7 separate regions of the Homo sapiens genome follow, and all the other regions are linked to region 1. Evidence: promoter capture Hi-C in 16 types of primary human blood cells and fetal thymus (Javierre and others, 2016). All regions are on one chromosome and are shown on one strand. Each heading gives the region's core, a stretch centred on a gene start or on the middle of the fragment in contact. The rest is flanking DNA. Distances are from core to core; before and after follow the strand shown.

What was found. The method cuts DNA at HindIII sites, captures the fragments that hold promoters and counts their contacts. A CHiCAGO score of 5 or more calls a contact.
Region 2: a fragment that was not itself captured here is called in contact with the fragment with the promoter of JAG1 in region 1 in 1 of 17 cell types (erythroblasts); the score reaches 6.2 in erythroblasts.
Region 3: a contact is called between a fragment that was not itself captured here and the fragment with the promoter of JAG1 in region 1, in 2 of 17 cell types (erythroblasts and megakaryocytes). The highest score is 5.4, in erythroblasts.
Region 4: a contact is called between a fragment that was not itself captured here and the fragment with the promoter of JAG1 in region 1, in 3 of 17 cell types (megakaryocytes, erythroblasts and endothelial precursors). The highest score is 8.4, in megakaryocytes.
Region 5: a contact is called between a fragment that was not itself captured here and the fragment with the promoter of JAG1 in region 1, in 1 of 17 cell types (erythroblasts). The highest score is 5.1, in erythroblasts.
Region 6: a fragment that was not itself captured here is called in contact with the fragment with the promoter of JAG1 in region 1 in 2 of 17 cell types (endothelial precursors and erythroblasts); the score reaches 5.7 in endothelial precursors.
Region 7: a fragment that was not itself captured here is called in contact with the fragment with the promoter of JAG1 in region 1 in 1 of 17 cell types (erythroblasts); the score reaches 5.3 in erythroblasts.

Annotation. Positions count from the first base shown.
Region 1 is chr20:10,671,936-10,675,913 of GRCh38, reverse strand. JAG1 (jagged canonical Notch ligand 1) reads left to right here and starts at 1,915. Exons shown (of 26, transcript NM_000214.3): 1 at 1,915-2,464; 2 at 2,908-3,213. The coding sequence starts at 2,384. RefSeq lists a silencer at 1,293-1,692. The HindIII fragment of the contact is 5,598 bases long and covers 1-3,978 here.
Region 2 is chr20:11,574,964-11,578,941 of GRCh38, reverse strand. No RefSeq gene overlaps it. Among named protein-coding and RNA genes, the nearest start is that of LINC00687, 290 kb to the left of the region's middle. The HindIII fragment of the contact is 2,970 bases long and covers 646-3,615 here.
Region 3 is chr20:11,555,139-11,559,116 of GRCh38, reverse strand. No RefSeq gene overlaps it. Among named protein-coding and RNA genes, the nearest start is that of LINC00687, 310 kb to the left of the region's middle. The HindIII fragment of the contact is 3,761 bases long and covers 199-3,959 here.
Region 4 is chr20:11,533,268-11,537,245 of GRCh38, reverse strand. No RefSeq gene overlaps it. Among named protein-coding and RNA genes, the nearest start is that of LINC00687, 340 kb to the left of the region's middle. RefSeq lists an enhancer at 1-272. The HindIII fragment of the contact is 547 bases long and covers 1,839-2,385 here.
Region 5 is chr20:11,514,946-11,518,923 of GRCh38, reverse strand. No RefSeq gene overlaps it. Among named protein-coding and RNA genes, the nearest start is that of LINC00687, 350 kb to the left of the region's middle. The HindIII fragment of the contact is 2,643 bases long and covers 496-3,138 here.
Region 6 is chr20:11,457,975-11,461,952 of GRCh38, reverse strand. No RefSeq gene overlaps it. Among named protein-coding and RNA genes, the nearest start is that of LINC00687, 410 kb to the left of the region's middle. The HindIII fragment of the contact is 849 bases long and covers 1,524-2,372 here.
Region 7 is chr20:11,403,557-11,407,534 of GRCh38, reverse strand. The region is part of intron 1 of LOC105372529 (a long non-coding RNA gene); the gene reads left to right. Among named protein-coding and RNA genes, the nearest start is that of LINC02871, 380 kb to the right of the region's middle. The HindIII fragment of the contact is 898 bases long and covers 1,414-2,311 here.

The DNA of each region.
Region 1 (3,978 bases), core at 666-3,165:
CCACCCGCCTCGGCCTCCCAGAGTGCTGGGATTGCAGGCGTGACCCACAGCTCGCGGCCCATTTTACTTTTAAACCGTTATTTAGCACCCAAACTCAGGGATACTTGGGAGTAGAAATTAGAACGGGACAGATAAGTGGGGAGACTGGTGTTGATGGAAACCTCAGTGAGAAAAGTGTAGATGGGATTACAGTTGACAACTGGTTGCCTTGATTTAGGATAATTGGGGAAAGGGAGGCTGGGGCACATTGAAACACCCAGGTTGTCGCTGCCTACCCCAGCTGCTAACATGACCAGCTGTAAACTTGCTCTGTTCTTAGAAACCTCCCTTCCAAAACATGGATTCTCCCGCCAGTGCTCAAGATGGGACACATTACCACTAAGTAAGCACTTTTCTTAGGAGCATTTCTTAGGCTGTTAAAATGCCAAGACTCCTAACCATCCTTGGTAGCTTTGAACCTATGTAAAGAGGTCAGTTAGCTGCCCTAGTTTATTCCTCAGAATGATGAGATTTGGCACTGAAAATATTGTTCATACTGAGCCTCCCATCAAATGCAATAAGTAGATAACCACAAATACCCACCCTTTTATGCTCATAACTCAGCATGTTGGAAACTATTTTCCCTTGACCTATTGCCAGCCCATCACGCCCCACACCCAGGAGAACTCAAGCCCCAAACCGGCCGCTGAATAGTCACGCTTTTCTGCAGGACATACCTACTATTAGGGCCAAAACTTTGTCCACCCTTCAAAGGAAGTCGATGTTTCCATATAAAGGTCCCCTCAAATGCAACAGCAAGCCCGTGGGAGAGGGGTTAGCAGAGGCTACGGCCAGCCCACGGGCTTTCTTCGACCTTGATTATGACCAGGAGTGTAGCTGTTAATTGCGAGGCTTGCCTCAAGGTGGAAAACAGTATCGGTTTCCACTGCCACCCCAGAGAAGGCAAGTTCCGCGGCTGGCGGTGCTGGGGACACGGTCCCTCCCAGGCCCATCTCTTGCCACCCAGAGAGCTGCTCGGAGGCCGCCTACAGGTGCAATCCCGGCACTGCGGCCGGGGCGTCGGGCCGGGGAGGGCGTCCAAGCCCACCAGCATCTCCGCCGGCCCTTCCCAAAGCCTGAACAGGGCCCCGGCGTGCCCGCCGCCTTCTACCCCCGGTTTCCCCGCGCCTCTGCCCCGGCGCGGTTTGGATAGGAAGCTGGGAGCCCTCCCAGGCTCCGCAGACTCGGATTTGGGAGGGGGTGGGACGCGGCCGAGGCTTCCCCTCGAATCTGCGGCAAGCCTGGCTCCAGGAAAGTTTTTCAAAGTTCCCAGCAGCGTCTGCCCAGGTCGCCTCCGCGGGGCGAGCAGACGGCGGCAAGCGCGCCAGCCTCGCCGCCGCCTCTGCCGCCAGCAGAGCGCTCTGGGCGGCTCGCTCGCGGGAAGCGGGCCGAACTCCCGGCGGGCAGGCAGGCCCTCCTCCCGGGGCGAAAGCCGCAGCTGACGCAGGCGGTTCGGAAGGCGGAAGCTGCCCCGCTCCGACCGCTCAGTCAGCGCCGCGGCGCCTACACCTGGGGCCCCGACGCGCGGGCAAAGGCGCACGGCCCGGGGCGCCCGAGGGGGCGGTCCCCGCTGGGGGCCTCCAGGCGTCCCTGAGCAACGATCCCTTCCAAGTACCTCCCCGCACTCTCCCTTCCCTCCTGGCCCGAAGCTCCCGAGGGCGGGGGTTGGTGTGGGGCCCTGGTTCTTCTACGCCGCCCTGAGCATCCCGCTGCCCCCAACCCCTTCCAAGTTCCTCCTCGCACTACCCCCTCCCCAGCAACGTGAAGGGGAGGGGCGTGCCCAGGGTGAGCACGCCCTCTCATGAATATTAATAAGCGCGCATGCGCCCTGCCCGGCGTGCTGGGTAGAGGTGGCCAGCCCCGGCCGCTGCTGCCAGACGGGCTCTCCGGGTCCTTCTCCGAGAGCCGGGCGGGCACGCGTCATTGTGTTACCTGCGGCCGGCCCGCGAGCTAGGCTGGTTTTTTTTTTTCTCCCCTCCCTCCCCCCTTTTTCCATGCAGCTGATCTAAAAGGGAATAAAAGGCTGCGCATAATCATAATAATAAAAGAAGGGGAGCGCGAGAGAAGGAAAGAAAGCCGGGAGGTGGAAGAGGAGGGGGAGCGTCTCAAAGAAGCGATCAGAATAATAAAAGGAGGCCGGGCTCTTTGCCTTCTGGAACGGGCCGCTCTTGAAAGGGCTTTTGAAAAGTGGTGTTGTTTTCCAGTCGTGCATGCTCCAATCGGCGGAGTATATTAGAGCCGGGACGCGGCGGCCGCAGGGGCAGCGGCGACGGCAGCACCGGCGGCAGCACCAGCGCGAACAGCAGCGGCGGCGTCCCGAGTGCCCGCGGCGCGCGGCGCAGCGATGCGTTCCCCACGGACGCGCGGCCGGTCCGGGCGCCCCCTAAGCCTCCTGCTCGCCCTGCTCTGTGCCCTGCGAGCCAAGGTAGGAGCCCTTCTCCGGGCCTCCCTCCCAGCCGTCCTCTCCCTCCCCTCGCGGCGCCCTGGGCGGTTGAGCCCCGCGAGCAGGCTCGGCAGCCCTCGAGCGCCCGACTCCTCGCCCCTGCGCCCGAGCGGCTGCACCTGGGCTGAGCGCGCCAACTCCCCCACGGGAGCCCCTGCCTCCTGAGGGTGACCCCTCCAGGCCGGACAGGGGCGCGTTCGCTCCGCTGTTGCCCCCCGGGAAGTCGTCGGATTTCTTCCGCACTCGTGCATTTTTTTTTTTTTTTGCCCCGGAATCATGTTGAGTCCTTGAACGTAGTTTCGCAAAATTATTTTCACTCGGCGAGGAGGGCTCGTCGGGGCGGGGAGTGGGAGGGAGTCGCCACCTCTATACTCGAAGAAAACAGCTTTCTCCCGCGCTGACCTACCTCCTTCCCTCGCCGGCAGGTGTGTGGGGCCTCGGGTCAGTTCGAGTTGGAGATCCTGTCCATGCAGAACGTGAACGGGGAGCTGCAGAACGGGAACTGCTGCGGCGGCGCCCGGAACCCGGGAGACCGCAAGTGCACCCGCGACGAGTGTGACACATACTTCAAAGTGTGCCTCAAGGAGTATCAGTCCCGCGTCACGGCCGGGGGGCCCTGCAGCTTCGGCTCAGGGTCCACGCCTGTCATCGGGGGCAACACCTTCAACCTCAAGGCCAGCCGCGGCAACGACCGCAACCGCATCGTGCTGCCTTTCAGTTTCGCCTGGCCGGTGAGTGACTACTCGGGAAGGAGGCCGGGCGGAGCCTCACACCCGCGCCTGGCCGAGCCCTGTTATCCCTTGCGAGAGGGATTTAAAGGGCTTTGGCTTGAAACTAGGCGCTAACTGGGGAAATCTCTAGGGGTGGCGGGTGAGGGAGCCGGGACACTATAGTTAGATCTCGGCTGGGGTAGTCGAGGTGGGTCCCATTCCTGCTGCTATTTGCTTAGTGCACAAAAGTGGGGATCCCAGAGGGTTTATGGGACCAGGCTCCTAGGAAGGCCGGTGTAAACTTGCAACTTGAAGTTCCCAGAGTAACTCTCCCGGCCCCAAGCCAAGAGATCGTTGTAGCTGATCTCTTTGCTTAACTAATTAAACCTGGTGCGCCGTGGAAGGCGACTCGGCGCAGTTCTGGCCTGCGAACGCCGTCCAAATTGGCAACCTCCCCTTTCCCGTGAACGGCCGGGAGGGCGGGTGTGTCCTTCCTGGAGGGTGTGGGGGAGTCCGTTTCCCGCTGCTCCCCGGGAGATTTTAGTGTGTGCGGGGGCGCTCTCCAGGTTCGGCTTAAGGGCCGGGGGCGGCCGCCGCAGGAGGAGGTTCTTGGGGCCCTCACAGGAGCTGTAGACCTGGGAACCCCCGCCCGCTGCTGGCCCCTTCCTGCCCCCGCCCCCGAGTGGTGTAGCTCTTGTGGCCTCACTTCCAGCGGTTCCCGGGCTCTGGAACAGCTGTGTTTGCAGACTTCCCCGGGAAGGGCGGGTGCACGGCCCCCGCAAGCCT
Region 2 (3,978 bases), core at 881-3,380, 900 kb before region 1:
ATCAATAATAAATTAATATCAAAGCTGTTTCTAGTTACTAGTGCCATTTCCAAATTAAATAGTCTTTTTGAAGGTTATAATTCAGCTGAACAGAAGAAAAGAGGGTAGAAATGTATGTCCTGTGTTGTCATCTAAAAATGCATACTAGTGATTGGCTTATTTATAATACCACATTTCTTTTCTAGTGACCTTTAGCCTATAATGTATATAAAATGAAAGATTCATGTATATTCAGTGAGGAAACAGCAATTTGGAATTGAATTACTTGTCTTAGTTCTAGTAAGCTCAAAATACTTCTATTTGTCATTCATTAAGTTTCCAACCACAGGTGTTATATTTGTGTTCTCCACTATTGAACACTTCCCAGAGTCACACTCTTTGTACCTCTGTAGTTCCTCCAATTAGAGTAGGCAGAGTATACTTCAACTCATTTATGTTGAGCTTTACCATGTGAAGTGCTTTGGCCAATGGAACATTAGTGGATATGTTGCATAAAGTAGCTTTAAATGTGATATATGGTTGAACTCGACTTCTTGTGCTCCTGCCTTTTATCATGAGGAAAGCCTGCCTCTGGAAACTACTGGTCTAAGAAGGATGAGAGCTATAGTTAAGATCTGGACCCAAACTGCAGCTTGAATCTAAGCTTGGTTGAGCCCAGCTTAGATCAGCCAAATCTCAGCTGACCTGAAGACATATAAACAGGAAATAAATGTGTCTTGTAAGCCACTAAATTTGGGATAGTTTGTTACACAGCATTATATTGTATACAGCAGACTGAGGCATCTTTTCATTCTTTTTGCTCAGTACATCTCCAAGCTCCTTGTGGTGCTTTGAATATTAAGGTTAGTTAGCCTTTTATATTTATTCCTCCTTGTTTAGAACTAAGAGACATTTCTTTTTTTTTTCTTTTTTCTTTTTTTTTTTTTGGAGACGGAGTCTCGCTCTGTGGCCCAGGCTGGAGTGCAGTGGCACAATCTCGGCTCACTGCAAGCTCCGCCTTCCGGGTTCATGCCATTCTCCTGCCTCAGCCTCCGGAGTAGCTGGGACTACAGGCGCCCGCCACCAAGCCCGGCTAATTTTTTGTATTTTCAGTAGAGACGGGGTTTCACCATGTTAGCCAGGATGTTCTTGATCTCCTGACCTCGTGATCCACCCATCTCGGCCTCCCAAAGTGCTGGGATTACAGGGGTGAGCCACCGTGCCCGGCCTAGAGTTAAGAGACGTTTCTATACTATGGCTCCAATTCAACATGGAACAATTTTCATTTGAGAATATGATTCAGCATTTATACTACAGGTTGGTGTAAAAGTAATTGCAGGTTTTGCGATATTTTAATTGCACTAACCCATATATTTCAAGGATCAGACAGATAGACAATAAACTATTAAAAACGCAGAAAAGTAATCTGCACCTGGAGAGGTGCAAATAATACATTGTGATTGTTACTTAAGCTGCCTTTTACATAAATTGTTTGATTTTAATAGATGGAAAAGGGGAGAAAGATGTTTTCAGTGGGAAGAATATTAATTTATCCAGTTTTTATTTATTTTCCCATCAAACACACGTTTTAAAAGTACTTTCAATGAACCAGTGTTAGTGATATAGTGGTAAAGAGCACAGTCATGATGTCAGGCTACTGGGCATGACAGGAGGAAGAAATAGACAAGGGCGGGATAGAGACCAAGTCCTCTGCATGAGACAGGGTCCAGTTCAGAAACAGGGGCCTTCCTCAACCTGAGAAAGCTGGTTAAAAACAAAACTAAACAAAACAAAATAAAACAAAATAAGGGGCTTAGTACTGAACAACATTGTGTCCAAAGACCTTTGCAGCTTCAGTGAGAAGTAGGAAACCATTGCTATTGTGTGATCTGACCCAGAAGAAGTTCTGTTCCAGGTAATTGTCCAACCCACGAGGCAGGCTGGATATAAACTGGTATTAGGAACTTTTCATGTAACTGGCTTCTCTGGAAAAACGAATGGGGAAGAGCTTTCTTTCCCAGGGAAGAAAATTTGCCAGGAGATCTGCAGGACACTTGAATCCAAGTCATTTTCGGTTGGTGACTGACTGGCTTTGTGTTGGGATACAGGGAGAGAAAGGAGTTAAAAGGGACACAGAAGTTTTTAGTTTTGATTTTTGATGTATAACATTGAACAAAATATTTGAAGGAATTGGGGAAAAGAACAGTGAAGTTTATCTATGTCGACCATAATGCTATATAAGAAACCACCCTAAAATTTTATGGCTTAGTACAATAACCATTTATTATTTTTCAATAGTTTATAGGTTGGCTTGGTGGTCCTGCTGGTAGAGGCCCAGTTAGCTGATTTCAGCTGGGCTGGCTCATGCCTCTGTTTTCAGCTGCAAATCAATAAGGTCAATTTGCAGTTTCACTTGGGCTCACTCATATACCTGAGGACTTGGACAAGACAAGTGGGCTTCATGAGGTCTGTATCATCCACCAGGCTATTTTGGGCTTATTCATATTTTGGGCTTTATTCATATTTTGGGCTTATTCATATTGATATGGCAATACGGACAGGAATCCCAGAGAATGAGCAGAACACACAGGACTTCTTGAGACCAAGGCCTGAAACTGGCTTATGCCACATTTGCCACATTCTGTTGGCCAAGTCAAGTTGGAGACCTGCCCAGACTCAAGAGTTGGAGAAGTAGATTTGGCTTCTTAATGGAGGAACTGCAGGTGACATTGCACAGGAGCATGGACACAGGGAAAGGAGGAATACTGGGTTACTTTTGCAATAACATTACCATAGTGACCAATCATTTCCATCCCTATTTTATAGCAAGCACTGTGCTAGGGACTTTACCAACTTGGTCTCATCAATGATCAGAGCAATTCTACTGGATGGGGAAAATGAGACATGGAGACATTAAACTTGTGTACAATCACACAGATATTAAGTGGTAAATTCAGGTAGTAGTTCTGATGCTCTGTAAAGCATAACTTCTTTCTACTCTTTCTCACACTGCTTCCTGCAATTACTGGTCCCCCAGTCGTTTACCACTTGAAACAGAATCAGTTCTACCACAGCAGGAATCTGAAGAGTCAGGTGAGGTTATATGGTCTGAGATTGCCATAGTTGTCAAGGCTCACGCTGGGAATGCTTGATGGGAATGAAGGGCTGACTGCTTGGAATTAACCTTTTATAAGGGAGTGGTTACCATCTGAAGGGGCAGGATTCCAAATCATCAGGTCCAAGGAGGCCTAATGAACTCTGTTTCCAAGGGGTCAACACTTGTAAGAGAGTGGGAGATGAGACTATGACTTCTAGGCAGGACAATCTTTGTCCTCAGGTGGGATGCCTACATCATAGCATAATGCCCTGTGGTTGATGTCAAGGGAGCTAACCCTATGATCTATACTAGGGAAAGGGGTTGCAGGCAGGAGGGTAGAGGTTTGCAGTTCCCTGGCTAACTGGGGTTTCCTGAGTGGAAATTGGGAAGAGAATTGTAAGTTGATGTGTGCATGGACATTTCCTGTTTTGTTTTGTTTTGCTTTTTGCCTTGAACAATATCTGGTACATGTGGACATGAAGTAAATATTTGTTGAGTCATAAAGATGAGGATATAACTAGAGGACTAAATATCAAGCTTATGAGACAGGAGGTAATATAACTTCAGACATTTTCTAGACCCTCGTTGGAAAAAGCAGGAACGCTTCACCTATACATCAAAGCTTCTCATTCACCGATTTAGAGACCAGCACTTATTCTCAAAGTTTCTCCCATAAACTATCAGATAAACAAGAATTTCTGGTGTTGGCGTTCTGCAGCTTTCACTTCAAGCAAGCTTTCTAGTGATGTCTACTAAAGATCTAGACCCTCCATCTTTGGCAAAACTGAACTTACAGGTAGAAAGTTATTGTTATCCACTAGACCAGTGTTATTCAAAGTGAGACTGTGTAGTAGCATCAGCCTCAACTGGTTCTGGAGTAGAGAAATTCATTCTTGGTTCTA
Region 3 (3,978 bases), core at 830-3,329, 880 kb before region 1:
TTGTAGCTTGTTGCTTTAAACAACTTCAAACATGATATATAAAATACCTCTATAATTAAAGAGACAAGAGAATCAGCCACAGTATAAATTCCTAAAATTTCCTATTTATTCTCTTTTCTTTTCAGACCATATGCCACGTTCAGGTGGTTTCAAGGCAAAGTAGTAGGGTTTGGTAGTGTTTGCCTTGGGACTGAAGCTTGCTATATGTGAAGTGATAAGCAAGATTTTTAGAATGATCCTGGGAGCTCTTTCTGACTGCCTGACAATGGCTTGGCAGGACCAGGCACTGCCTGTACTCCAGCGGCAGAGCTTGCCCACATCTAACCTCTAGCGCTTCCTGTGGAGTCCTCCCACTTGCTGCAACTGTGCAAAGGTTTTCGGAGGCAAGTGGTCATCTTTCCTAGAAGTCATAGATATTAGTTCATCTGAAGGCTTGTTATTAGTTATCTGAAGACTGACTGAAGCTGGAAGATCCACTTCCAAAGTGGCTGATTCACATGGATGGCAGGTTGTGCCTGATTGTTGGCAGGTGGCCTCAGTACCTCTCCATAAGAAACTTCCCACAGACTGCCTGCATTTTCCCACAGTATCGGAGCTGGCATCCCCAAATGGGTGAAAAATCTCTGCAGAAGCAATCAAGCCTTTCACAGAAGTATTTCACAGAAGGAAATGCTTTCTGTGACCTAATTTCTGCAATCATCCACCACATTCTATTTTATAGGAGTGGGCCACTAAGCCTGGAAATTAAAAAAGAGGGATCTTAAGTTTCACATTTTAAAAAGCGGAGTGACGGCCAGGCACAGTGGCTCACGCCTGTAGTCCCAGCACTTTGGGTGGATCACGAGGTCAGGAGATCGAGACCATCCTGGCTAATACAGTGAAACCCCGTCTCTACTAAAAATACAAAAAATTAGCCAGGCGTGGTGGCGGGCATCTGTAGTCCCAACTACTCCGGAGGCTGAGGCAGGAGAATGGTGTGAAGCCAGGAGGCGGAGCTTGCAGTGAGCCGAGATCGCCACTGCTCTCCAGCCTGGGCGACAGAGTGAGACTCCGTCTCAAAAAAAAAAAAGAAAAAAAAAGGGGAGTGATATAGCCACAGTAGGAAAGACTTGGAATCAACCTAAATGCCCATTGATGATAGGCTGAATAAAGAAAATGTAGTACATATACACCATGGAACACTATGCAGCCATAAAAAGGAATGAGATTATGTCCTTTGCAGGGACATGGATGGAGTTATCTGCAGCAGACTGATGCAGAAATACTGTGTGTTCTCACTTATAAGTGGGAGCTGAATTATGAGAACACATGGACACATGAGGGGGAACAACACTCACTAGGGCCTGTTGGGAGGTGGGGGGAGGGAGAACAGCAGGAAGAATAGCTAATAGAGGCTGGGCTTAATACCCAGCTAACAGGATGAGGATGAACTGTGTTACAAACCACCATGGCTCACGTTTACCTATGTAAAAAACCTGCACATCCTGCACACGTACCCCTGAGTTAAAATAAAAGTTGAAGGAAAAAAAGTGGAATGACAATTAGTGAACATATTTGAAAACTATCACATTCTGTAAATTCATATACTTTCTTGAGTAAATTCCAATTTTTTTCTTCTCAATTATATGTGCACTTTCACACTTGTACTATAAGAAGATAGAGTAGCAGAAATGAGGTGAACAGTGTTCCTCTCTTAAAATGCAAACCTACTGCATGTGCAGTAGCTATTCTCAGGAATAGTGTCCCTTTCTGTGAGATGAGGGAGAATAGAGGCTTATACACTTTTTTTCGTTGACCCTTATCTTGTTTATATACCCAATATAGCCTATCCTTTGCTCCATAGTGAGTAGGATGTTATAGTGTTGCCTTGTTTCATCTTGTCACTTAAGCAAAAATACAGACATCTCATGGTATCTGTGGGGGATTTGTTCCAGGACCCTGCAGATATCAAAACCTATGCATACTCAATATTTTTAAATAAAATGAGATCACGTTTGCATGTAACCTATATACACCCTCTTGTATACTTTAAATCTCTAGGCTACTTATAATAATCTAATACAATGTAAATCTTATGCAAATAGTTGTCATACAGTATTTTTTATTTGTATTGTTTTTTAATTGTTGTATTGTTATTTTCTATTTTCTTTTTCCCAGAGTATTCTCAATGTACAGTTAGTTGAATCTGGGGATGCAGAAAACATGGATACCAAGGATTGACTGAACATAAAAAATACTCAGGACGTTTGTTCTCAAGGACTCTTTGTAGTTTGTTCCAGTAAGAGTTGATATTGTAGTAATCACATGCAACAAATGGGAGCACTGATACTGTTCTAGACTTCCCAGCCTTGAGGAAATGACACTGACATGACATGCATCTCTGTCTCTTGCTCTGTTTATCTCCTCCCCATCCTTTTTTTCCTTCCTCCATTAATTAGGTCTAGAGTACTCACTCTGTGACACCTGCCAGGAGGGCAGACCAGCAACTCAGTTACTGTCTTTAGGTAATCACTGTCTAAAGTTGGTCCTTGAAATTTTCTCTATTGTTTGTTTAAAACATAGATTCCTGGAAGCTGTTCCAAATATACTGAATCAAAAGCTCTTGGGTGGCCATTGGCAAACCACATTGAGTAATTTGGAGGACTACTGGCTCTTGTCGGTAAAACTCAGTTCCTGTTACCATGACGATTGTTTTTGACTTGTATAAATCAATGGGTCTCAAACTTTGACAGGTAACAAATTGCTGAGCCCCATCCCTAGAGTTTCTGATTCAGTAGATCTAGGATGGGGCCTATAATTTGTATTTCTAATAAATGCCCAGCTGATGTTGATATTGCTAATTCAAGGATCACACTTTGATTAATGTAAATGCTAATTAGTAATCTTTTTTCAAAGGCAGATGTGTATTTGGTCCAATGAGGTATGATTAAAGCTCCCAGAGTCAGAAAACTTTGGAACTAAAGTAGATGTTGGAAATCATAATGTAAAAATCATTTTCTCAAAAGTTGATTAAACAAAGTTAAAAGTTTGGTAATTTTGTCTTGGTCGTTAAACAATTTAAAGCAGATACAAAAAGATAGCTGGATTCTCTGACTCCTAGTCCAGTTTGCTCTCTATTGATCATCCTACCTAAGAAAATCTTTATGTATAGTCATGAACTGCATAATGAAGTTTAGGTCAACAATGGACCACACATATGATAGTGGTCCCATAAGATTATAATACGGTGTTCTTACTGTACCTTTTCTATATTTGGATATGTTTAGATACACAAATGTTTACCATTATGTTACAATTGCCTACAGTATTCAGTACGTAACATGTTGCACAGGTTTGTAGCCTAAGAGCAATATACTCTACCATATAGCCTAGGTGTGTCATAGGTTATACATCCAGGTTTATGTAAGTACATTTTATGATGTTCACACAATGATGAAACTGCCTAACTATATATTTTGCAGAATGTATTCTTGTTGTTAAGTGACATATGACTGTGTGTACTTCTGAAGCCAACTTATTGAGTTATAAAGGGTAATCATGCCAGCTTAAATCAATAAAAGTCAGAGAGAGTGATGAAATTAGATGTTTTCATAAAACTGAATAAAAACAACAAGAAGTCATTAAAGAGGATGTTGAAAGACTTGTTTGGCTCTTTTGGGTATCTTAGTTAAATTGTCAGAGGAACAATTTCTTTTTATGAGACATTAAGAAAAGTACTGACATGTGAAGCTATTACACATATAGGCTGTAGTTTTGCCTGCAGAGCAATTGCCAAGAAAAATATTAACATAGAAATTGATAGTCTGAGAGTATATGATAGTGACATTTCATATAAATATTTAGCACATGACCCCATGAGGCAAAAATACAGGACAAACTTATAATCTGTGTGGCTGCGTAGACCCTAGGGCTATGTAATGACTATGTCCAGCTTGTTGCTGACTAAATAAAAAGAAGCTTGATTCATCACAGATGAGC
Region 4 (3,978 bases), core at 863-3,362, 860 kb before region 1:
CTCCTTCAAGGGTGTAGGTGGAATTAGCAATTCCTTTTATAATGTAAACTTCAGCATGCTGAAAACCTCAAATAACTTAACATCTTTTCTCCACACAGAGAGATAGCTACTTTGCTTGAAATTTCCAGGATTAGTGAATACTTAAGGGCAATTATGAAAGTCTGCACATTTGTACAGTTGAGGCATTGCTACTGAGATCTAACAAAACATTTTGCTAGGAGTATAGCTTTTATTAATCCACTCACTATCTATCGTCATCCAGCGGACAGCTAAATCCTGGAAGTTTGCACGTAAGACAGAATTTGTTTTTTTTTTTTTTTTTTTTTTTTTTTTTTTTGAGGCAGTCTCGCTCTGTTGCCAGGCTGGAGTGCAATGGCGCGATCTTGGGTCACTGCAACCTCCGCCTCCTGGGTTCAAGCGATTCTCCTGCCTCAGGCTCCCAAGTAGCTGAGATTACAGGCGCCCGCCACTGCGCCCGGCTAATTTTTGTATTTTAGTAGAGACGGGGTTTCACTATGTTGGTCAGGCTGGTCTCGAACTCCTGACCTCAGGTGATCCGCCCACCTCAGCCTCCCAAAGTGCTGAGATTACAGGCGTGAGCCACCGCGCCCGGCCAAGACAGAATTTGAAGAGAAGGAATTAGGGGAAAGTGTGGAGCACTGTGCAAATTGCTCTGGAGTGGGTAATATAGGGATGGAGAGGTCCAGGTATTTAGTAGGAAGCAAAAGGACATTGCTTCCCTGGAGACTGAGAAAGAGATCTCACATGGAGGAAGGGCAGAGGCTGATGGTTGCACCCTTTTTCCTGCAGAAGAATTTCGTCTCTGGGAAGTCCTGACTCTGCATTAATGATGGACATCAATGTTTTCAGCTGCCAGACAGGTCCATCTTCTCAATTCCTGAGATCCTAACTGTGGTTTGTCATTTTGTTTAGTGTTTCTCTGGCACTCTGTTTCTGCATCCAAATCCTAGCTGTTTCATGGCAGTATTTAGTTAGCTTTTATGATCACAGCTCTTCAAGTTTGCTTATTTTTGTGCTCTCTATTCTATAGAAAGAAAGATTCAGATGATCTTGCTCTTACAGTGGGCATTAGAGGTAAAGCCATGATGATAATTATTACTCAAAGGCCCTTAAGCTACACAGCTTCAGACAATCCTGCCTAAAAAACTTAAATATCAGAAAGCTGTGAGGAAACCTGTGCATGGCCACTGGAATTTCACAATGGTCCCAAATTTGCACCCTAAAATAACTTTCTGTGTATAGTCAGGCAGCTGATGCCTAGAATTTGTGCTCAGGAAGATTAGAGGAATGTAGCAATTATTTTTTAAAGTATCTTAGTTTGAAGGCACCCTATAGATTTGTTAAAAGTACATATGAGGAGTAAAGAGGCAGAGGAAATAGGGAGGGGCTCCAAGCTTGGAGATAAAAAAATTGCCAAGAAAGAGTCTGCCTTTAAAGAAAGGGGAATAAGGAGCAGGAAGACAGAGGAGAGAGATAATAAACAAGAAGCGTCTTCATGGTGCCCTAATGTAACACACAACAGGGGCTGGAAAGCATTGAACATTTGTTGTTAGAGAAGAAAGTAAGGCAGGAAACATTCTGAGAATGAGGATGAGCCATCTATTGCAAAGACTTCTGTGCTGTGCTCACAGGCAAATGCAAAGCAGAGCAGTCAATGGCCAGTGCTTTGACCACTCCAAATGGTCTTCTCTACCACGGTTAGTGGGCCAAGTCATTCTGGAACAGGCTTTGAACTGGTCCCTTTACATTGCCCAGAACGACCCCTGCTCATCCATTCTTGCCTCTTTGCATCTTTCTATTTATCACGCCATTAAGCTTGTAGTACACAGCCAATTCAATAGGGAGCTCCCCTAAGTATACATGTACATAAAAATTGGAATTAAAAGGAGCTACTCTCTTTGATTTGGCCCTGGTATCTTGATTGCTTTCTGTTGTGCCCATCCTGATTTTTGTCTTGGCCCTAGGCATTTGGGCAGGTACACTTTTGTGGCTGACTTGAATTCTTTTATTGCACCGTCTCCAGTGTATTTCTCATGATAATTTCGTTTAGCAGCAATTCTTAATCTTGTTCAACTTGCTTTTTAGTGACACCTGATTCTTTTGCTGATCTGGCCAGGTAACCATAACTAGCAGAGTCAAGAGACAAGGGGAGGTTGAGAAATGTTTACAAAGGTCTTGATGCCTTTTATTACCTATAGATCCTTTTGCTTCTACCTTTAGGAAGCATTTCTTCCTTGAGGTCCTCCATGTAGCTGTTGTACTCCATTGTTGCTCAAGCATTGGTACCTGACTTACTGTCTTTCTTTTCACTCCTTTTAGGCTGAACAATCATCCTGGTTGTCTTTGTTATCCATGTGGAAAGCTTCCTGACTTATTATACTCCAACAATCTCCATTCAACCCCTTGAGCCACTCTCTCTCAGGATCATACTCCAGACCTGGGCACTTGTTGGGAAATCCTAAATTTCAATTTTCAATTTCTGACCATAATTATCCCTGCATGTTTTTTTTCTTTTTTTCCCTTGCTCCCTATACATAGGTTTTCTGGATACCCTGAGAATTCAATTCCTCAACCCTTCTCTTTTTCTTCAGTGAACTCTTTCCTTCCTTTGATAGCCCACCTCTCTAGAGTGCAGTGTTTATGTTCTGTTTTTGGTTGCTTCAACATCCTCATGGCCTTGCAAATTAGCATCAATCTAGCCATTCATTATACCCTTACAAAAAATGTAGCTGATAAATGCCCCTGGAGAAAATCATTTAACTCTGTAGACCATTGTTGCTACAGATTGTGGTTTCCAATCTCCAATGAGTCTTCATTTTGGTTTGAAAGTTATTTTACACAACTAGCTTGCTTGCTTTCTCAGTAACCCACAAGGATATTTCAAATGTCATTCTCACCTATCCACCTGCTCATCACTGATGTCACTTGCAGTAGGTAGCCTTGCTTCTTTTTTACTGAAAAGACAACAAAAACTTCATCAATGTTATCCCTTTCAGTGCAGAGGAGGGAGCATCTTGTGCTGAAGCTCCACCTCTAAAATTTGCCTTGTGGGTCCTGTTCCCACCCCACATTTTCTCCATTATTTGCTCTGTTGTCTGCGTTTTGATTCTCTTTCTCCTTCTTCTTCTTCCTAACCTATAAGTACACTCGAATATATCCTATTAAAAATAGTAAAATAGAAAACCTTCCACCATCCTGTATCTTTGTTATTACCAGAATCATATTCTCTTTTTTCCTTTAGAACAAAGGTCTTTTTTTTAACTTTGTAAAGCATCTATTTTGAGTGATAATTTACATAGCATATTTTTTTTTTTCATTTTAAGTGTATAGTCCCATGAGTTTTAGTCACACAGCCACCATCCCTGCAATCTGGTTTTCAGTTCCTTCCCTCACCCCAAAACATTCTTCCTGCTCCTTAGCAGTCAGTCTTATTGCCCATTCCCAGCCCTAGGCCACCACTGATCTGTTTTAGGTCTCAATAATTTTGCCAGTTCTGGGCATTAATCACACGTGACTTTTGTGCCTAAATGTTTCCACTTGGCATAAGAGCTTTGAGATTCATTTATGTTATGCATGCATCAGTAGTCTTTTCCTTTAAATTGCTGTATAGTATTCCATTGAAGGGTTTGCCACAAGATGTTTATCCAATCCCCAGTTGATGGACTTCCCTCATTTTTAACTAATGAATAAAATTGCTACAAACATTGGTGTCTTCACCTTTTAGTCTTTGATTAATGTCTCTACATTTTAGTCTTTGAATGAGGATGAGTCATTGTTTCTCTTGGGAAGCTACTGAGGAGTGAAGTTTCTGGGCTATATAGTTAGTATATGTTCAACTTTTCTAAAAAAAAAATTTAGATTCAGCGGTACATGAGCAGATTTGTTATCTGGGTATATTGCGTGGTGCTGAAATTTGGGCTTCTATTGATCCCATTGCCCAAATAGGTAATATAGCAC
Region 5 (3,978 bases), core at 568-3,067, 840 kb before region 1:
TAATAAAATTTGACCTCTTTAACACATGGGAGACCTTGAGAAAAAAATTTACTCTCAGATTACCTGGAATTGTTTTCTGCTACTTTACCTTACTCTGTGTCGAACCACAATTTAAACTTACTGGTAGTCTATGTGCTGTTTTTCTAGTCACTTGTAGTTTTTCAGCTCTTCAACAAATTTCACTTCTCCTCTAACTACTCTGTGTAGGCCAAGGCCTATCATCTATTTCCTGCTCGCTTGTTTTCCTTGGTCAGTCAACTGGGCCTTGGGTGGTGAGTTATGAACTGGTGGAGTGGCTCCTCTGGCCTCTTCAGACACTGAGGGGCTTTCCACGCTGGGTACGCTGTTTTTCACTCAGGGTTCTACATTCTTTTTGGCTCATACCCTTTTCTAACAAGTGCTTTCAACTGTGAGGGCTCCATCATCCCACCCTACATTCAACTTCTATTCACTTCTCTCATATCCCATACTTCTGGAAGACCACAGAAGGAAGCTTTCTATATTCCCTTAAGACTAAGTTGAGAGCCTTTTCTATGTGTTACCAATACACCTGTGTTAGCTTTGTAGTAACACTTAATTCTCTGTATTTTAGGTCCTAGTTGACCTGTATGTCTCCTCGTTAGACCGAAAGTTGTTTGAAAGCCTGAGACTACTGGTTCCCCAGTGTAAGCACAATGCCTTAATAAGCATTGCATAACTAAATATAAGAAAGAAGGAGCAAATGATGGTATTAGTCTAAAATATTGGAGGGAGTTAAAAAGAAATTATTTAGGCAGATAGTGAGGGTAAGAGAGTCGTTGGTAAGGTTTTCCTTTTAATAAAAAGCAGCCCCCAAATCATTTCTTTTCTAACAAAAAGCAGCCTGCGAAACTGAGCTGCAGACATAGATAAGCCTTGCAGGGGTGAATGTCAGCAGCTGTGTCAATAGGAAAAGGCTACCTGGGGACTAGGCATGTTCAACATGGTGGCTCCATCTTTCCTTTTTCTTGACAACCACGTGTACAGTAAGGAACAGACAACATGGCGCCGGCCAGGTAGAGACCCCATCTGCATAATAAAAGATTAGGGTGGGGTGACCAGCTTTGCACACTATGTAAATGGTACACCTGGTCCAACCAATCTTTGGGTCCTATGTAAATCAGATACTGCCTCTTCAAGCTCATCTATAAAACCCCAGGCATTTCGCCACAGAACCAGAAGATCCCCCGCTTCACATCCCCGCCATATGTCTCACTCTGCAGGAGAGGAAGCTATTCTCCGTTTTCATTCTTTTGCCTATTGAGCTTCTGCTCTTAAACTCACTTCTTGTGTGTCTGCATCCTCTATTTTCCTGGTGTGAGATGATGAAACTCAGGTATTTATCCTAGACAGGAACGCCGCTTCAATTCTAAACCTTCGGATGACTCCTCTTAAACCTTGACAATAACTTATGCTGTAAGTCAATGACAATGAATAAATCACAATAGGCCTTTCCAACTTACCCAGAACTAAATACAAGGAGTACACAGAGTATGTGGGCATAAAGTGACCTTTAAAGACATATTTAGAAATAATTAAATATTTTCAAAAGTTTCATTTTCTTTCAAAAAGAGCTAGATTTGTCCAGTGTAGAAGAGGCTGTCTCTAGTTCTATTGAGTTTCTGATCACTGGAAGTGTATAGGCAGTTGCTGGACAAGGGTGTCTATTAGAAGGTCTGAAAGTAGAATCTGGCCATAGTTGGGATCTACCTGCAGCACTAAGATGGGTGATTCTTAAGGGTCTGTCTCATGTCTGCTGTCTGCTGAGGCGTACACTCTGCCCAAAGGCACAGAAACATAATGAAATATTCTTCTGTTCCACCTATCAAACCTCACCAAGCACTTCTCATTGGTGGAATACAAGTGGGAACTCTGCAGGCACAGCAGGCTAGGAAGTGCTGTTTGCAGGACTCTAGCTCCCACAACACAGAGGAGAGAACTGAAAAAATTAGCAAGATCCTTAGAAAGAGATACAAAAAGAGAGGTCTCTGGGCCTTCCAGAGTTGTATCCACATGCCAGTCAATATTGCATCTTTAGCTATGGAGGCTTAAAGTTTTTGTAGCTCCTCTCCATGCTACCAGAAGATCTTGGAGAGTCAGAAGTCTTACCTTAGGCCTTTTCTCTGCCTAACAATGGCACACAATTATTCTAATCTAAGGAAATTCAAAGAGGAAACACGATAAGACGTTTGGAGTTTTCTTTCTACCTAGGTTTCCATTATCTCACCACACCCAGATCATAAGGGCATATAGGCTGGGCCACTTATTAGTTTGATCTCCTCTGAATCACTCCACAATTCTCCTATCAGCATATGAAAAATTTGCATGCACTGCTGGGTAGCAGGAAACTGTATCACATTATATCCTGAATCTTTCTTCTTCCAAGACTAAAAAATAAAATCCAACTCCGGGAGTTCCAAAATAACACTCTCCGAGCCCAGTGGCCTGTGTGCATGTCCTGTCAACTTTGAGTTCAGTGATGTCACATTGGTAGGCTGAAATCAGACATGATGGGAATGTTTACAACACAGAAATCATAAGTGCTACAAATTATGGCCTTTTTTCTTTTTAAAGAGTTGCTTATTAGCTAAACACTTACTAGCATAGCATACTGTTGTCTATTTTGAAACTCAGACCTGAGCGATGGAGGCAATACTGTTTTTGTTTCTGCTGGGGATCTGCCTTCTTCCTAAGACAATGGCTGCCTCAGCTGTCGTGGCCAAGATAGGTAACTTGACTGGGAGCAAACAACATATTGGATAATACGCCAAAATCTTATCCAACAACAACTAATTTTCATTTGGTGCCTTATTGAAAGTGCATACTAACATGCCTCCATCTCTCTATCTCTAATTTTTAATGAATGAAGAACTATATGACAGATAAACAAACTGCCAAAGTTCCCTTGATTAATTGTTGCCATTGCCAAGAACCCAGCAAGGCTCATCTGACATCAAAGTCTGGGATCCTGCTACTCCTGCGGCTCCCCTGCACACTGGTCAATGAAGATATTACATTTCTGCAGGTATAGAATTCCCAGTGTCCTCAGAAACTCTTTGCTGTACTTAGCAAAACCATGCTTTCCACTTCTAAAAACCTAGAGCTGAAAACGATTAAGCTTTAGTATAGAGCTACAGGAAACACTTGAATGGCAATTTGAATCTGAAATACTTTTCATTGGAAAATAACTGATTTAAAAGTTCTCCAACATTTGAGGTTGCTGGTCTTAGGCAGCGGAGAAATTTATGAAACCCAGGAAGGAGCAACACAGGCATTAGACATTTTTGCATATGTGGAAATATGCAAAAAAAAGAAAGAAAAAAAGCCCTTAATATTTTGTTGTGACTGATAACAAAGTAAGCCTTGAGAATGGTTTTAATATCAAATGCAGTACATCCTAGTAATATAGGGTTACCAGATTTAGCAAATAAAAATACTGGACACCAAGTTCAATTTGAATTCCACATATACAATAAATATATTTTTAAATATAAGTATGCCTCAAATATTAAATGAATCTTACCTGGCAACCCTAGAGTAATAGTATATTTGCTTTCTTCTTTCTGCCAACTAATGGCTGATATTGATACAATTTTCCATCATCTGTGCTACCAAGATAGCCTAAAAAAATTTGGTTTACACATTTTAGTTAAAATATAAGGTCAGTATTTATGCAAAGATCTGGAGTCCATTTTTCTTTGTCATGCTTCTATGTAATTTATACTTTTTCCTTTATTAAAAATTCAGAATTAAGAAAACCAAAGTTATTTTACAGTTAAAGGGTAAATAATCACCTAGAGAGAGCAGAGGTAGAGACAGAGAAGAAAGGAGGAGATCTCACAAAACCTAATCTACACATTATTAAGGCTGTGGGCAAGAATTGCTTCTCAGAAGAATAAATGTTTTGGAAGCAAAAAATGAGCTAATGCAGATTAAAATGAAGTTTAAGTATCAGTCCAG
Region 6 (3,978 bases), core at 699-3,198, 790 kb before region 1:
TGGTAGAGTCATAGGATACTAATTTATTTTATTCTCCATTCTAGTATTTTAGTTAAATATCTACATATTAAATATCTACTCTGTGGAAGATACTGAGACTGCATAACTTTCTCTAAGTACTCCAATATGGAATATGGGCACTCTAGGACCAAAAAGTCACAATACTCAGGCTTGTCAGAACCAGAGTTAGAGCTTCCTAGAAATAAAGTCAATCCAACAAAAGCTCCTCTCTGGAAAAGACCTCTCATGTGAAAGGATGGCTCTGGTCTTTTGAATTGTGTAGTGAATACTCTTGGTGTACATGTAATCCTCTTTGCCAAATCAGTGTACGTGGTTCCTCCAGTCACTGTGGGTGTTGAATTGCTCATGCTTGTCCCCATCCTTACCTGAAGGATGGTTCTTGATCAAAAGTGCCAACTTTCCCAGAAGTTTATTCCATAACCTGGGGCATCCTATAGCTAATGATGAGGGGAAGTTGAGGCCAGCACCTTGTCTCAATATGAGACAGACTTGGTACAATCCATGGCCCAGAGCCTCCCATGTGATCAGGCTGAGGCTGGACTTCAGCTGAGATCACATTGCTGCCTAGCTCCTTCCATTCCTCTGCTTCTTTCTCTCTCCCTTTCCTCTGAGAGACTTCCCTCAGGGAATCATATACACCCAAATTCCCTTCTCTGGATCTACTTCTAGGGAACTTGTGCTCAGATCTCAGAGCCACACAGCTCTTCCCTGGGATTCAGGCATTGCTGCCTGAGACTATTCCCAGGTTTTAAAAGTCTTCATAACTCTCTAAGCCTCTCTGTATTCAGGAAGCTTCATGGAGTAGAGGGAGGCAGCCACCTACTGCCTCAAAAATGTGCGGGAACCCTTTAACTCTGGTGACAAATTCAGGAAATGGGGCTTGGTTGCTAAGTGGCAACCCTCTAGACCCCAGGCTGGCAAAGCAAATGAGGGCTGAGCAATGCTCTAAGATAGTAAATCTCTGGTCTGGCCCATCATTAGACAAAATCGTCACTGGAGATGACATATCGAGGGTAGGAGTCACTGGTGGTAGACTGTGGAACCACAAAGTCAGGATATCTATGTGAGGAAAGTACTAGAAGCTGGAATGCAAACATCAGACCCCCATCTACTTCTTTCTACTCCTGCATTGCTGCAAGAAAGTCTCTTCATAAGAAAGTCAGATGAAAACCAGCAAGCGCCTTTGAGGGAGGCTGGATTATATTTCCAAAGGCCTGGAAGGTGAGAGGATTCATGAGCATAAAGCACAAGTGAGTGCTGAAGAAGGACCTCACCTAGGAACCACTTCCATCCTGGCTTGAGAAGGAGGAGATGGAGGCAGAGATGAGATTGTGTGTGAAATGCAATAGGCGGCAGTGTGGGGAGGTGGCAGATCCGCAGAGAGAAAAGCAACCATAGAGTGTGTCTAAGGAGGAATTGTAGGCTGCCTCACAAAGGGTTGATGGAACCCCAAGCATACCGTAGAAACAGCAGAGACACTGGCCAGGGGAATTACAGAAGCTTAGAAGGTGGGCTGCTGAGACACATCCTGTGTGGGCTGATGAATGAAGACCAGACAGCCCCCCATCTCTCTCACAGTGCCTGAGGAGGCCTTAAAACAAGGACTCTGGAGCCTAAGGCCTGGGTTCAAATATTAGCTCAGATATTTATTATCTGTTTGTCCTTGGGGAGGTCAGTTTTGACATCTCTGAGTCTGTCTTCTCATCTGTGGAATAGACATAATAGTACCTACCTTCTAGAACGATAAGCGTCAACTGCTTTGTCTACATAAAGTATATAGAAGAGTCTGTGAATTAAAGGCTTTTGCACTGCTTAAGCTCCCAGAACTCTGACACTGCTATGGCTTGAACTGTTTTCCCAGCTCAGAGAAGTGAGGTCTTAGAGACATACTTTACACTGAAAAAAATTAAATTTTATTAGTGAATCAATTCATAGCCACCACAGGAATTTTCTACCAAAGATGCATCCACCTAAATTGTCTTGGGTTTCACTGTAACTTTATTTTCATTTTTTATCCTCTAGCTTATTACCTTCAATAGTTTTTTTTAAATATTTCTTTGAGCTTCCATATTAGATGAAGACAGAGACAGAGAGAGAGGACTCTCAAGCAACTTCAGTTTCTCAGGGAAAGCCCATGAATTGATGTAATCTAAAGAAAGCAATAATGCTGTTTACTGCCCAGCAAGGAAGCTGTTTACCACAAGGAAGTGAAGACGACTAGAGTGGGAAACAGGAAACTGAAAAGAGGAAATGGTTTACAAGTCCCCAGAAAATACACACAGATGGAAATTGATGAACAGTGACAATGGAGAAGGATGCCCCAGGCAACTCTGCTTCCAAAAGTTAAAGCTTCCATCCAGTCAGTACTTAGTTCTCTCTGTTGTTTCTACATTCTTAGTGTGATCTTGCTAATATTTAAAAGGTAAATCTAAACACTTCAGAATCTTCACAATTCTACTGATGATCAGCAACTGAATGACTCATGTGAATTTCAATTCTGCTAAAAGATGCAATCAACAGAAACTCTGAGAAACATGCAAGGAAGAAAACTCTAAGGACTTGTTAGAGATTTTACAAGCCCAAACTAGGCTCCTTTTAATTTTTTCTTTTTCCTTTTGCATGATCATGAGCCGGTCCAGAGCAAGGAGCAGAACCCAAAGTTCACACATATATTTATTTAGTTAGCAAGACATTCCTATTTTTATAGCTCAAAGTTCTTAACTTTCTTGTTAGCAAATGTTAACAAGGTTTAAAATGCATAAAGTGAGCTGTGGCATGTAAAAAATTTTGGCCTATTCTGGCTCCTTCTTTTTTTATACTTATGTTCAATGAAAATGTCCTACTGACAGGCAGAATGTCTGGGCAACTTTATAGATAGTGTTCCCACCTCAGGGCCACAAGGTCACAGATTCGTTCCTGATTCTATTTAAAAAACACTCAACAATGGTAAGTTTGTGTGTGCTTTTATGAGCGGGAGCTGTTTTATAGAACCCAAAATCTTAAAGATACTCCAAGGAATCTTGCATGTATGCTGGGCTGTGAATTGGAAAAGCTGCAATATGGGGCTTGCTGCAGAATTGGAGAGTTTCATGGAATCATGAGCAAAGACTGACTATAATAATTCTCAGACATCGTGTCTACACAAGGCCAAAAAGCAGTTTGTTTTCATGGTGGCAATCAAAGCGCTTGAAAGGCATTTCAACCTGCTGTTCCAGCGTCAGTTTACCAGTGAGTGGTCATAAAATGAAACAAGGCAGAGGGAGTAAAAAAGAAAAGAAAGGAGAAAAAAGCAGACCCCACTCAAATCTCACAGACATTTTATAACTATTTTAGACACTGCAGGCCTTTCCTTCTGGGTAGTGCATAAATACGGCTTCTGAGAAGTCGCCGGTAGAATCCCCGAAGGCCCCCTAAGTATAGAAGTGAAATAACCGTCAACACCGTAATGAGCAAACATAGGGGCACTTCTAGCAGAAGGGGATTAGGAAATAGCTCAGTTGGTGGCTACCATAACTTTCTGAAACATGTTGACAAAAAAAACAGAACAATTCAGATCTGATTATCTACCTGGGTTCAACTGCTGTGGGACCAGAGACAGTGGATTATCCTTTCTGAGTCTCTGTGTTGTTCCCTCTGAAATGAGAGAAAAGGGCAAAGTTTTCTTAGAAGTGAAAACATTTACCTTTCACAACTTCAAATGGAATAGGTAACTTGAAATGTGGCAATTATCCATCGTTTTGTGTAAATGATGTACACATAAGTGTCTCTCCCACCCAAGGCTGACACTCAGCCTGTGGTGTAGATGGCTCCCATAGAATGGTACACATGGTGGTCCTGCTCCCACCGCTGAGAAAGAATATTGGGTTCCAACACAGTGGTGGCCTCTTCTACCTATGGCTTGTGAAATCTAAGGATATACACTGTCTCACAACTTGCTTTTCACATATATTATAATCT
Region 7 (3,978 bases), core at 613-3,112, 730 kb before region 1:
ATACTTACTATGTGTTCACACAGGTACCTATTTAAGTGAGGGTCTATAATTAATAAAGGATAATAGAAGTGCAATATCAAACTTAGTTACATAGACTTCACATTCTAGTGCATAAAGACTGGTAAAAAATAAACATAGTTAACTTTAAAGTCAATGGCAAATGTAATTCCACTTTTTATTACTATATAGTCATCTCCACTAATAATGTATTCATTTCCCATCTCACCAGTAGAACATGAATGTTAAAAAAGCAGTAAAAGTTTATTGAATCTTTTTTTGTGGTAGATACTGCTAGTGCCCACCTATATGCAGTTATCTCTTTCCTGGGTACAAGAAATACTGTTCTACCAACTTCCCTTGCAAAGAATTGGCCATATGTCTAGTTCTAGTCAGCGAAATGTGAATAATAGGGATGCATGGCACTTCCGGGCTAAGGGCGTGGATTATTTATTGTTATACAGCAAATTACCATAAACATAGCAGCTGAAAACAATATGCGTGTATCATCACACAGTTTCTGGGGTTCAGGATTCTGGCCATAGCTTAACCGGATCCTCCACTTCAGAGTCACAGGGCTGTAATCAACGTGCTAGCTTGAAAAGCCCAGACAAGATCCTCCTCCAAGTTCACATGGTTGTTGGCAGCATTCAGTTCCTTGCCAGCTGCCAGACTGTGAGCCTCAGTTTCTTGCTGGCTGTCAGCTAGAGGCTCCCTCAGCAACTTGCTGTACAATTCTCTCCATATGTAGCTTGTGATATGGGAGCTTACCTCTTCTAAGCCAGAGAGTCTTCTAGCAAGGCAGTTTCAACATCTTATGAAATGTAATGACACGAAACAATGTACATTTCCTCACCTTTGCCGTGTTCTAATGGTTAGAAGCAAGTCCCCGGCTCTCCCACACTCAAGGGGGAAGAATTGTGAAGCCTGGAGGCAGGGATCACGGGACAACCCCAGACATTGTTCAATGCAAACAGTAAAGTCCACTGAGAGACATTCTGGCTCTCTCTTCTCTTTTCCTACATGATGGATGATAAAATGGCAAAGATAAAGGTGCAGGCAGACTGGATTCCCGAATCACCACCTGGAATAAGATTGTCTTGATTCTCCTGAACAGTCAGCTCACCCACAAACTCAAGGGCATGAAATCTGAGGGCTTTTGCAGTCAGATTTGGTAGAGAGAGAGACAGAGACAGAGAGAGAGAGAGAGAGAGAAAGTGACATCCATGAAACAAAAGGAAAAGAATCAAGACACAGGCAATTAAAATGAGTTGTTTGTTTAAAGATAAAAGAAAGATGGAAAGTGTGAGGATGGACGAACACTGAGTCCAAAAAGTTGAGAGCTGATAGAGGGAAAAATGAGGCTGACTGAATGCAATGAGACAGAATGAATATCAGGGCAAAAATGAAAAAGCTTGAGGTAATGAAATCCCATTTTATTATATCTTTCAATACAAAGAATTAATAAAACAACCTAAGAAATCAGCTAAAAAGAGTAACATTAATAACATGAAAAGAAATATCCATGGTGAATTTTATACTTTTGTGTTATATCAAGGTCAAAGTTAATCTTTATTTCTTCTGCTCAAAAGCCATTGCCTAATATCCAGAACAAAGAATAGTATGTTCTGGACTGGGGTAATGCAGAATTAAATAAATTGAAAGCCTAATATTCAGAATACAGTAGAATAAGAATAAATATTTTAATTCAAAAATATAACTTTTGTATAAAGTTATATTTTTGCATCATGGTCACTACTTCATTTAATGGTGATACAGAAATACCCAACTCCTTTTATTCTTCTTTTTTTTTTTTTTTTTTTTGAGATGGAGTCTTGCTCTGTTGCCCAGGCTGGAGTGCAGTGGTGTGATCTTGGCTCACTGCAACGCCCACCTCCCGGGTTCAAACAATTCTCCTGCCTCAGCCTCCCGAGTAGCTGGGATTACAGGCGCCTGCCACCACGCCTGGCTAATTTCTGTATATTTAGTAGAGATGACATTTCACCATGTTGACCAGGCTGGTATTGAACTTCTGACCTCAGGTGATCCACCCTCCTCGGCCTCCCAAAGTGCTGGGATTACACGTGTGAGCCACTGCATCCGGCTGGCCTCCTTTTATTCTTAATGATGAAAAAGCGTTGAAAAACTGGATCATAAACCAGTGGTTTACAAACTTTTACTCATCAGCTTTACCTGGAGAACTAGAAAACATGCAAATTCCTGGGTTCCACCCACAGGGATTCTGATTCAGCAGGACTGGTTTAGGGTCTGATATTCTAACCTTTCTAACAAGCCCCCAAGTAATACTGAAGCTTCTGGTCCACAGTCTGTCCACACTTTGAGTACTGTTGCTCAAATGTTATGAAGAGGCTGAAATACCTTATTTTGGCTTATTGACTCATTAAGTTAAAGACATTTGTATAGCAGCTGGTGATAAAAGATGACTTTGGCCTTCATGTTGTTCCTAAAAGCAAAAGATTTAACTCCTGTATAAGACACTCTCCCTATACCCGAAGAAAAGGCAAGATGTTTGTCTTCAAGAATGAGAAGCTGGGACTGAGAGAATACTATACAGACCTTATTAGAATAACTCCTCTTTACCGGTCCCCCACATAGTTTAGCCACATTTTCACAGTTTACTATTCTTTGTTCAATCTGGTATATAAGTAATATACTCTAATTGCTTTGGGGAGGTCTTTATTTCTTTATGAGGGTCCCCATGACACATACAACTTGTTAAATAAATTTGCATGCTTTTATCTATCTATGTCAATTTAATTCTTAGGCTCTGCTGGAACCCTAAGAGGAGGAAGTTGAAATTTTTCTGCCCCCACAGTTACATATGTCAGTTGGTTAGTAACTGAAGTTCTTCTATATTTATCCCTAAGGAAAGACTAGTTAGAATTTATACCAGAATGTCTAGTATGGTTCAAGGAACATTGACAAAAAAATAAATAAATTGTGGCTTATTTCCTAGCCAAGTGTGTTCAAAAATAATGTCCCAAAATAAAGGAATCTAGCATTTCACTTTTGATTATAATATATAATTGTAAGTTCTAAGAAGATAGGTGAAAGAGCCTAATACATTTAAGGCACTCATAAATATTTGTTGATACATGTATGAATGCAAGGCAGAAATTATGGCCTAGAAATAAAAGCATATCAAGAATTGTCATAAAAAGATAATCTGACCTATTCTGGTTCATCTTAAAAAAGTGTGGTAGTTTGTCTGCAAAAATGTCTCCAATGCTTCATGCCTTTGCAATATGACTTTGGAACTCTTTCCTATAGGAAATGGAATCTCTTTTCACTTACTCTGCTTCCCCCCAACCCCTGACACACCCCACTCTACTTGTGTCTAGTCTAGTTTGGTGACTTGCCTTGTCCAACAGAATGCGGAGGAAGTGATAATGTTTTATTTGTGATTCCAGGCCTTTGGAATCGTGTGTACTTCCACTCTCTCTTTTAACCCATGTAACACCATGTGAACAAGCCCAGACCAGCAGTGCTAGAAGATAAGAGGAGGGGTGGGCCAGAGCCCAACTGTCTCAGATAAGGCCATCCTAGACCAGCCTATAGCCAGGCAATGCCAAAAATGTGATAGATTCCAGCCAAAATCAGCAGAGCTGCCTCTCCTCACAGAGTCCACAGACGTATGAGTGAGACCAAAAAAAGCTTCTGGCTGAGACAGAGCTATGACCATAACTCATGCCTGTTGTTTTGTTTCTGAGTCTTCTTTATTACCTCTGGTAAATCTGTCTTTGTTGAATTATGTTTTTAAAAATAACTTTTATTTCAGAGTATTTTTAGATTTACAACAATGTTTCAAAGCTAGGGCAGAGTTCCCATATTTCTCATACCCAATTTCTTCTATTGTTAACATCTTATACTAACATGGTACATTTGTTTAAATGAATGCACAATAATAATGCAGTGTTATTAGCTGAAGTTCATACTTTATTCAGATATTCTTAATTTTTA